Regions from separate parts of the Homo sapiens genome. Here regions 1 and 3 are each linked to region 2. Evidence: promoter capture Hi-C in human tissues and cell types (Jung and others, 2019). All regions are on one chromosome and are shown on one strand. The core of a region is centred on a gene start or on the middle of the fragment in contact, and the rest is flanking DNA. Distances in the headings are between cores, read along the strand shown.

Region 1 (3,380 bases), core at 305-2,804, 400 kb after region 2:
CCCTGGTTCAAGTGATTCTTGTGCCTCAACCTCCTTAAGTAGCTGGGATTACAGGTGTGCACCACCATGCTGGCTGACTTTTTGCATTTTTTTAGTAGAGATGGGGTTTCACATGTTGGCCAGGCTGGTCTCGAACTCCTGATCTCAGGTGATCTGCCCGCCTCAGCCTCCCAAACTGCTGGGATTACAGGCGTGAGCCTCCACACGTGGCTCAGATAAATGGTTTTAAAGCTGTGTTCCAGAGGTTGTAAAGAGTGCTCAGGAGCTACCAAAAGAAAGGAGGTACTAGAAAAGCAGAACCAGCAGGGCTCTTGACCTTCTATCCCAGTTAAATCACACTAATTCCAACTTTAAGTCTGTATATTAAGGTTCTAATAATTCAATTGGGAAAAAAAAGTATCACTATATGGTAACTTTTAAAAAAACTACTGATTTATCTAATTAGCATGATTTTCTCATAAGATTTAGAAGGTTCTCCAATGCTTTGCCTTGATGGTTCACATATTAAAACCCATAAAGCTCTCTCACAGCCTGTTTTGTCACCCTCTTTGCCTTCTCTGGATATCTACAAGCACTCTGCTAATCTTGGGCTTAGAAAAGAGAAAGTGATGGTTTGGTTCACCATATATTTTTATTTCATTAAATACAAAGGTCTCAGACCTTTGTGGCATGAGGTAAAAATCCAGGATGGGACAGCTATTCTTTTAGCTGAGAATTCTATACCACACCCAATAATGCTAACCTTCTCAGGGGCTATGGCTATGACACAAAACTAAAGTTTCTGATTTAAATCACAGATAGAAATAAAGATCCTCTAGCACTTTATGTATGAAAACTTCTAAGTACTCTGAATAAAAAATAAAAGTTCTTACATGTCACTCACATTCCAGAGTGAATTATCATCTAGAGGATGGTAACTATTAGTGTCTTCTACAGTTTCTAGTAGCTACTTTTGTTGTGAGTTTCTAGAAATGACTTTTCCTTAGTTTTTTTAGTAGTTGCTTTCCTATCTCTGAGACTATGCCAGCAGAATCTCAAAACATTGCCTTTTCTTATTCACCAGCCTGCCTTTGATCAAAGTTGTAGACCTAGGAATAAATTTATGAAAGGTTATCAAGGACAAACTTTATTTACCTTCTCTAACAAGAATGCCACCTGTGGGAATCCAGGTTTCTGTTACCCACCTTCTTCCTAAGAATTTGGGAAATTTTGAGGTTTCAATGCAGTATGAAATAGGAATAAATGGGAATAAACCAAGGATGATTTCTGAAATCAAACTGAGGTAAAAATTTTTCTCTATAGGTCTGTCAGCCATAAACACACCTATTTCCAGAGAGGAATGTTCATGAGTTGAGTCACTCCATTGCCAAAACACCATCTACCATACAAAAAGTCTCTGACCATATTAGTATAGGGAGAAAAAACATAGGCTCCATGAGGAGTGGCAAGTTCATTCACACTCCCACATTCAGCTCCCCACCAGAACTATTACATGTCACCATGAAACGGCATACTAGCCCAAGGTCTAAACCAGTACTAACTATCAAGAAGCTACAAATGAGATGGCTCTCAAAAAGCTGTAGTCCAGACTTGGAATCTCCAGTAGAGACAGAAAAAAGGCATAAAAACAGTTTTCTTAAAAAAGCTATCACATACATATAGGCAGAAATCAGGTTGCTTATTAGAAGCTCATGTCCTCCTTCCCCAGGACTCCAAAAGGATATGAGAAGAGAACTGGCTGTAGTAAGAACCCTAAAAAGGGTACAATCTCCTATACCCTGAAAGAGTCCAGCGATGGATACTCCCGGAAAGCCTTGGTTAAGTTCAACTGTTTTCTAAAATAAAGTCTATCTATTTAAAAAAACTGATTGTTGGAGTTAGGTAATAAGGACATGGGGTTTCACTGTACTATTCTACATTTTTGTGTTTACAAATCTCTGTTAAACAAGTTTTTAAAAAATGTATGTATGTCCATATAAAAACTTTTATACCAATGTTCAGAGCAGCATTAATCATAATTGCCAAAAAGTGAAAAGAATCAAAATGTTATCCATTCATTCACCACTGATGAATGGATAAACAAAACATGGTATATCCATACAATAAAATATTATCAGCAATAAAAAGGAATGCTACAAACACGGATGAACCTTAAAAAAAAATATGCTAAGTGAAAGAAGCCAGTCACAAAAGACCACATATTATATGATTCTATTTATATGAAATGTCCAGAACGGGCAAATCTATAGAGACAGAAAGTAGATTAGTGATTGCCTATGGCTGGGGGTAGGGTGGAGGGAGTAATGGCTAAAGGAACAGAGCTTCTTTCTGGTGTAATAAAAATGTTCTAAAATTGATTGTAGTGAGGGATGCACAACTCTGAATATGCGAAAAATCACTGAACTGTACACTTCAAATGGGTGAATTATATAGTATACAAATTACATCTCGATAAAGCTGTTAAAAATGTATACATATTTTAAAAGGTCCTTCAGAGCCTAAACTCTCCATTCTTTTCTGTTGATGAGTCCCAAAAATGCCCCAAGAAAGCTGTTTGCTTCTATTCCCTAAAGAAAATCAGAGGGAAAAAAATCCCACTCCTTCAATCTGTCAGAATAAGGAGAAGAAATTAGGCGATAAGCTGGGCACAATGGCTCACACCTGTAATCTTAGCACTTGGAGAGGCCAGGGCAGAAGGATTGCTTGGGGTCAGGAGACTAGCCTGGACAACACAGATAGATAGAAACCCAATTTCTAAAAATTTATTTTTTAATTCACCAGGTGTGGCAGTGCAGCCCATAGTCCTAGCTACTCTTTAGACTGAGCTGGGAGGACCACTTGAGCCCAGGAGTTTGAGGTTACAGTGAACTATGATCACGCCACTGCACTCCAGGCTGGGCAACAGAGCAAGACATTGTCTTTTAAAAAGTTAATAATTTTTTTTAAATAAATAGCTCCATGAATGGAACATTAAATGTGCAAATTACTTTGATGAACAGGAGAAATCAACCTAACATCCACAAGTCTTTAGAAGCCAAGTGTTTTAGAATTTTTCACATTACCTTTCATGTTCCCTTTTGAGTAGAATTACAGTCCTACATACAGGGCTGCTAAGGTGAAGACACTAAAACCCAACTTGGCTATCATCCAAACCTGATATAAAACTTAACAGATTCAATAAAGGAAGAGAAAGACTACTAGAGTCTCAGAAAAAAAATAAACAAACATCTGGCCAGGCATGGTGGCTCATGCCTGCAATCCCATCACTTTGGGAGGCTGAGGCAGGAGGGTCACTTGAGCTCAGGAGTTTGAAACCAGCCTAGGCAACACAGTGAGAACCCCATCTCTACAAAAATTTGAAAAATTAGCTGGGCGTCGGG
Region 2 (3,208 bases), core at 30-2,529:
GGTCCCAAGTTGGAAAGGAAGGAGGAGAGAGGCAGAGAGAGAGAGAGAGAGAGAGAGAGAGAGAGAAGCGCGAGAGCGGCCCTGTAATTGAGCAGAAAGGAAAGGGAGAAAAATGAATCCCAAACTTTGGGCTTACCTCTTTCTGCTGGCTGGCTCGCCAAAATATGTTAACGGTAGAGGATGTCCAGGTTCTTGGCATCTTGAACAAACAATTGGACAAAATGCACAAACAAAGCAAGAAAGGAATGAAGGATTTTATTGAAAATGAAAGTACACTCCACAGTGTGGGAGCGAGCATGAGCATAGGGGCTCAAAGGCCCTGTTACATTTTGTGAGTTTAAATACCCTCTACTTGGGGTACACCCTATGTAAATGAAGAGGATGAAGTAAAGTTACAGTTACAAAGTTATTAATGGCGGGCATACGCCCTATGGAGAGGATATTTCCCGTTATAACTGAAGTGTGAATTGGCCTTATGTTCCCTGTCTCTAGACCCTATTCTCCTGCTTCCTGTGAAAGCAGAGGGTTTTGTTTGTTTTTTGCTTTTTGTTTTTTGAGACGGAGTCTTGCTCTGTTGCCCAGGCTGGAGTGCAGTGGTGCACTCGGCTCACTGCAACTTCCGCCTTCCCGGGTTCAAGCGATTCTCCTGGCTCAGCCTCCGGAGTAGCTAGGACTACAGGCGCGTGTCACCATGTCCCAGCTAATCTTTCTTTATTTTTAGTAGAGACGTGTTAGCCAGGTTTCACCGTGTTACCGTGTTACCGTATTCCAGCCGGGCTCCGCCCCTGGATTCGGTGGACAGACCAGCTTTACCTCCAGAGACTCCCCCTGTCTTCCCTGCACCGGCTGACTATACCTACACACTTCGGTGGCACAATCTTTGTTTAGATATGCTGATGCCTTCCTTCGCTGGGAACGGTCCAGTCCTGCCCGCCTGGCGCTCAGCTCTGCGGATCTCAGGGGATGGAGTGGCAATCTCATTGCTCCCGCCTCTCCTGACCCCTCTCGCCTTCTCCTCGAGACCCGGGTTAAGTGGGCAGAGGGCTCCGAGGGTCCTCTCCCGCCGTGGGATTGCACAGAGGGCTGGGTCCGCAGGCTGGCTAAAAGGACCTAGCCCAGGATTGCGAGGCAGCGCCCTCCCTGCAGCTGGACAGACTCGGGCGCCCGGCCCAAAGCCCGGCAGGGGCGTGTCCGCGCGCTCACCTGCTATTGGCCAGGTGGGGCTGTCGGCTGCCAGCAGTGCTTATGCTTTAAGTGCGGAGCGGGTGGCTGCGGAGCCAGGCGCGGCGCAGGATGGTGGACAGCGTGTACCGGACCCGCTCCCTGGGGGTGGCGGCCGAAGGGCTCCCGGACCAGTACGCGGACGGGGAGGCGGCGCGCGTGTGGCAGCTGTATATCGGAGACACCCGCAGCCGCACCGCCGAGTACAAGGCATGGCTGCTTGGGCTGCTGCGCCAGCACGGCTGCCAGCGGGTGCTCGACGTAGCCTGTGGCACTGGGTGAGCCCAGGCCGGGGCCGGGGGCGTTGCATGAGATCGGGGTCTGTCTCAGCCTGTACTGCGCGGCCGCAGAACCACAGGGCCGGGCACGTCAGGGCGGCCTTTGCCAATCCTGGAACGGGTGGGACACCAGGGCCAGGAGCAGGTACCTGCCCGGCAGAACAGGCACTGCGAGTGCCCCGTGAGGCTAGGGGTCCAGGTAGCGGTTCGCAGGGAGAGGCCCCGGAGAAGGGAGACTGAGTGTGAGTGAGGGTGTGGGCAGAAAAAGTGAGCGTCCCTGAGGCTTTGGAGCCAGAGCCACGGACAGATTGCAAATATTCCTCCTGTGATGGCCTTGGGCAGTGTTAACAGTTAACATTGCTCAACATTTGCACCTGCCAAGCCCAGTGCCAGGAGCTTTTGATACATCACTTTTTCAAACCCTCACAAAGCCCCATGAAGTTAAGCAGTGATATTCTCTCATTTACTACTGGGGAAGTAAGGCCTCAGCAAAGTAAAATTCCCTCATACATCATCCAGTGAAAAGGAGCTAACAGGCCCGGGTTGGTTAAGATCTGTCCTGTGCTCTATTTTTCTCTTTTTTTTTTTTTTTTTTTTTGAGATGAAGTCGTGCTCTGTCGCCCAGGCTGGAGTGCAGTGGCTCCATCTCGGCTCACTGCAAGCTCCGCCTCCTGAGTTCATGCCATTCTCCTGCCTCAGCCTCCCGAGTAGCTGGGACTACAGGCGCCTGCCACCACGCCCAGCTAATATTTTGTATTTTTAGTAGAGACGGGGTTTCGCCGTGTTAGCCAGGATGGTCTCGATCTCCTGACCTTGTGATCTGCCCACCTCGGCCTCCCAAAGTGCTGGGATTACAGGCATGAGCCACCGCGCCCGGCTTTGTCCTGTGCTCTAAACCACCATGTTCTACTGCCTTTTGTGCACACGTATTTTAACTTCAAGGAGCCTCAGCTTGTCTGTCTCTCAAATGGGAATGACACTATTTACCTCTCAGGATTGCCATGAGAATTAATGCATATTTGTAGAGTGCCTGGCTCTGAAGAGGTGCTTTTAAAAAAAAGTTGCCTTGTGGTGACAGGAAACAGATTTGTGAGGTCAGTGGAGAGGGCCTGGGGAGAGGAGGCAGAGGAACGGACTCTGAGAAGTAGAGACAAAAGTGTCCAGTGCAGGGTCTCCTCCTGGCCCTCCCAGGCTCCCCTAACTGCCTCTCTCTGCCTCTCCTCGCTGGCCGTACTCAGGGTGGACTCCATTATGCTGGTGGAAGAGGGCTTCAGTGTGACGAGTGTGGATGCCAGTGACAAGATGCTGAAGTATGCACTTAAGGAGCGCTGGAACCGGCGGCACGAGCCCGCCTTCGACAAGTGGGGTATGCAGGTCTAGCCAGGCTCCCCCAGCCCAGTCACCAGGAACACTGTTCATTCTGCCTGGGGCTCCTTTAAGTGGGGGCGGGGGTGGAGTGTTGTGTTTTCCTCGGGGAGACAGAAAAATTACTGTCATTTCTCTGAAAAGCAAGTCTTAAGCTCCAGAATGAGACACCGGGTGTGAAGAGCTGGTTTTAACTGTGTTTGTGGCATCTTGTCCCTCCCCTCAAAGAAAAACCCATAAGCACAGAGCCCTCCTTCCCAACCAGGGTTCCTTCTCCCTTGATCCCTCTTTTCTCCTCCCCCTAACTGAACGGGGAGCTTGTGTGTCTTAAGAAGAAACCCAGG
Region 3 (3,162 bases), core at 1-2,500, 480 kb after region 2:
AAAAAAAACAAAAATTAGCTGGGTGTCATGGCTCACACCTGTAGTCCTAGCTACTCTGGAGGCTGAGGCAGGAGAATTGCATGAACCCGAGAGGCGGAGGTTGCAGTGAGCTGAGATCATGCCACTGCACTCCAGCCTGGGCGACAGAGCAAGACTCTGTCTCACACACACAAAAAAGTAAAAACCTATAAAAGCTTTTACATCAAATCTGCCCAAGATACCTTACTACCTTGCCTGTTAAAAAGACAGGGTAATAGGCCAGGCACGGTGGCTCACGCCTATAATCCCAGCACTTTGGGAGGCCAAGGTGGGTGGATCACAAGGTCAGGAGATCGAGACCATCCTGGCTAACATGGTGAAACCCCGTCTCTACTAAAAATGCAAAAATTAGCTGGGCATGGTGGCACACGCCTGTAGTCCCAGCTACTCGAGAGGCTGAGGCAGGAAAATCGCTTGAACCCAGGAGGTGGAGGTTTCAGTGAGCTGAGATTGTGCCACTGCACTCCAGCCTGGCGACAGAGCGAGACTCCGTCTCAAAAAAAAAAAAGGGTAGTAAATGTAACAAAGTAGTTAAGAATCTGAATCTGAACTTGTGTCCTGCCCCTTACTAGCTGTGGGCCAGCTAGTTAATCTGTCTGAGCTTTGGTTGCACCTGAGAAAAGGAAATGATACCATCTTCATAAGATTACATTGGGGCTTGAATGAGAGAATGCCTGTAAAGTGCTAGGCACATAGTGTTCAATAAGTGCTTGATGTTATTGGAATTATGTCTTGTCTCCTCTGACTAGCTCACCCCAAATTTAAGTCTACTCTCCTCAAGCTCCCTACTTCTCTTGACTCCCACTATCTCCTGCAAAGGGATAGGAAGTGGGCCAGAAGGTAATGGGAGCTCCCTGACCCACTGGGGCACCTGTTCCATCAGATCCTGCCTGCTGGAGACCAGACAGAGGTGGGGGAGAAGGGTGTCACCCTTAGCGGAGGACAGCGTGCCCGGATTGCCCTTGCTCGTGCTGTCTACCAGGTCAGTTAAAGATGGAGGTTGCAGTGGCAGGGAGGTGGGGGGAGTCCAGAGCCTTGGGAACTTGGCTGAGTTAGGAGGATAGGAATATTTTCCTTAGCATCTGGTTCCTTCCCTCCTCCCTTGCATGTTCCTGAGGTATTGGCCATCTCATCCCCTTTTGCAGATTTAAGGCAGAGTTCAAGGCCTTTAAAAAGTATTTGTAGGCTGGGCATGGTGGCTTAGGTCTGTAATCCCAGCACTTTGGGAGGCCAAGGCAGGAGGATTGCTTGGGCCCAGGAGTTTAAGATCAGCCTGGGCAATGTGGCAAAACCCTGTCTCTACAAAAAATAATTTTAAAAAGTTAGTTGGTGTAATCCTAGCACTTTGAGAGGCCGAGGAGGGTGGATCACTTGAGGTCAGGAGTTCGAGACCAGCTGGGCCAACATGGTGAAACCCCATCGCTACTGAAAAACATACAAAAATTAGCTGGGCATAGTGGCACATGCCTGTAATTCCAGCTACTCGGGAGGCTGAGGCAGGAGAATCGCTTGAACCCGAGAGGCAGAGGTTGCAGTGAGCCAAGATCACACCATTGCACTCCAGCCTGGGTGATGAGAATGAAACCCTGTCTCCAAAAAAATTTAGCTGGGCTTGATAGCATGCACCTGTAGTCCCAGCTACTCAGGAGGCTGAGGTGGGAAGGATCACTTGAGCCTGGGAAATTGAGGCTGCAGTGAGTGGTGTTCATGCCACTGCACTCCAGCCTGGGCAACAGAGCAAGACCATGTCTCAAAAAAAAAAAAAAGTGTTATATGGGCTGAGGGCCTGGGACCTAGGAAAGCTGAGTGCTGGCCCTGGGGTGCTGTTCTTTCTTGCCTGAAGGGATGTCCACCCTCAGGTCTCACCTCCTTCTCTGCTAGTGTAGGGGTAGCCCCCAGAGTTTCTCTCAACTGTCTTCTCTGATCACTTTGAGATCTTCTCCGGAGAGCCTTTGGGTCCTGGTGCCCACGGTACCCTCACGTCTCCATAGGAAAAGGAGCTCTATCTCCTCGATGACCCTCTGGCCGCTGTGGATGCAGATGTGGCCAACCACCTGCTGCACAGGTGCATCCTGGGCATGCTGAGCTACACCACACGGCTGCTCTGCACCCACCGCACTGAGTACCTGGAGAGGGCTGACGCGGTGCTGCTGATGGAGGCCGGGCGCCTCATCCGGGCTGGTAATGGGGGCAGGAGCCCCGTGTGAGGGAGGTGTCTGCCCAGGTCTGGCAGGGGATTGTGAAGTACAGACTCTGCCCCCTGCTGCATGTGTGCCCTGAGCCAGTCATTGCTGCCTCCCGCCTTCACAGAACTGGTGTGAGGAACTGGGAGAACAGGAGGGAAAAGGAGTACGTTGGTAAAATGCCAGTGTATTTGGGACTCATGGGCTTTGTGACTGGGTGCTCTTGGGAACTTAAAGGCCCAGGGTCTCTGAGAACATTCTCATATCTTCAGAGAAGAGAAAGGAGTCAGGTTTAGAATGGTCTTTTTGTAAAAACAAAAATTTTTAAACTCTGAAAGATTTTTATGCAGAGGGATGTGACCACCTGCAAGTTTACTGGGAGAGAAATAGGAGGAAATGAAGCTCCAGCCAGATATTAGGAATTGAGCGAAGCATGAGAAAAAGCTCTGCAGTAATGAGAAGTAACCCTGGACAGAGTGGCAGGCATAGCTCTGGCGGTCCTCTTGGGGATGGACATTCGTCCCTCTCTGCTGGTCGGAATCAAGGTTTACAAGGATGGACTTGAGTCCTGCTCGAGGTCTAGGGGTATCCAGAGCAGGGTGGGTTAGAGAGGGAGGCCTAAGAGTCCTGCTCGAGGTCTAGGGGTATCCTGCTAGGGTGGGTTAGACGGGGAGGCCTGAGAGGATGAGAGGTGGGATCTGCACACGCACTGAGAAAGGCATAGTATAGACTCAGAACAGTCCTCTCCCAATCTCCCCTTCTACCCTCCAGGACCTCCCTCTGAGATTCTGCCACTGGTACAAGCTGTCCCCAAAGCCTGGGCTGAGAATGGACAAGAGTCTGACTCAGGTATGGCTCCCCAGTGGGAGAAAAGGGCTTGCTTTTCCCTGCCACACTGTAGAGCTTTTTCTACAACGGCTGCCCGCTCCTCTGAAATACT

What was found. The method cuts DNA at HindIII sites, captures the fragments that hold promoters and counts their contacts. A contact is called where the count stands out against the background at its distance.
Region 1: a fragment that was not itself captured here is called in contact with the fragment with the promoter of GNMT in region 2 in 1 of the 25 tissues and cell types used here (dorsolateral prefrontal cortex).
Region 3: a fragment that was not itself captured here is called in contact with the fragment with the promoter of GNMT in region 2 in 1 of the 25 tissues and cell types used here (dorsolateral prefrontal cortex).

What each region holds. Positions count from the first base shown.
Region 1 is chr6:43,358,644-43,362,023 of GRCh38, forward strand. The region is part of intron 2 of ZNF318 (zinc finger protein 318); the gene reads right to left. Among named protein-coding and RNA genes, the nearest start is that of ZNF318, 9.3 kb to the right of the region's middle. The HindIII fragment of the contact is 8,687 bases long and covers 1-3,380 here.
Region 2 is chr6:42,959,475-42,962,682 of GRCh38, forward strand. GNMT (glycine N-methyltransferase) reads left to right here and starts at 1,280. Exons shown (of 6, transcript NM_018960.6): 1 at 1,280-1,499; 2 at 2,738-2,865. The coding sequence starts at 1,294. CNPY3-GNMT (CNPY3-GNMT readthrough) reads left to right here. Exons shown (of 5, transcript NR_134892.2): 2 at 2,738-2,865. RefSeq lists enhancers at 999-1,500, 1,679-1,728. The HindIII fragment of the contact is 14,111 bases long and covers 1-3,208 here.
Region 3 is chr6:43,440,940-43,444,101 of GRCh38, forward strand. It overlaps ABCC10 (ATP binding cassette subfamily C member 10), which reads left to right. Exons shown (of 22, transcript NM_001198934.2): 9 at 923-1,021; 10 at 2,031-2,220; 11 at 2,994-3,071. Among named protein-coding and RNA genes, the nearest start is that of MIR6780B, 8.0 kb to the left of the region's middle. The HindIII fragment of the contact is 4,033 bases long and covers 1-3,162 here.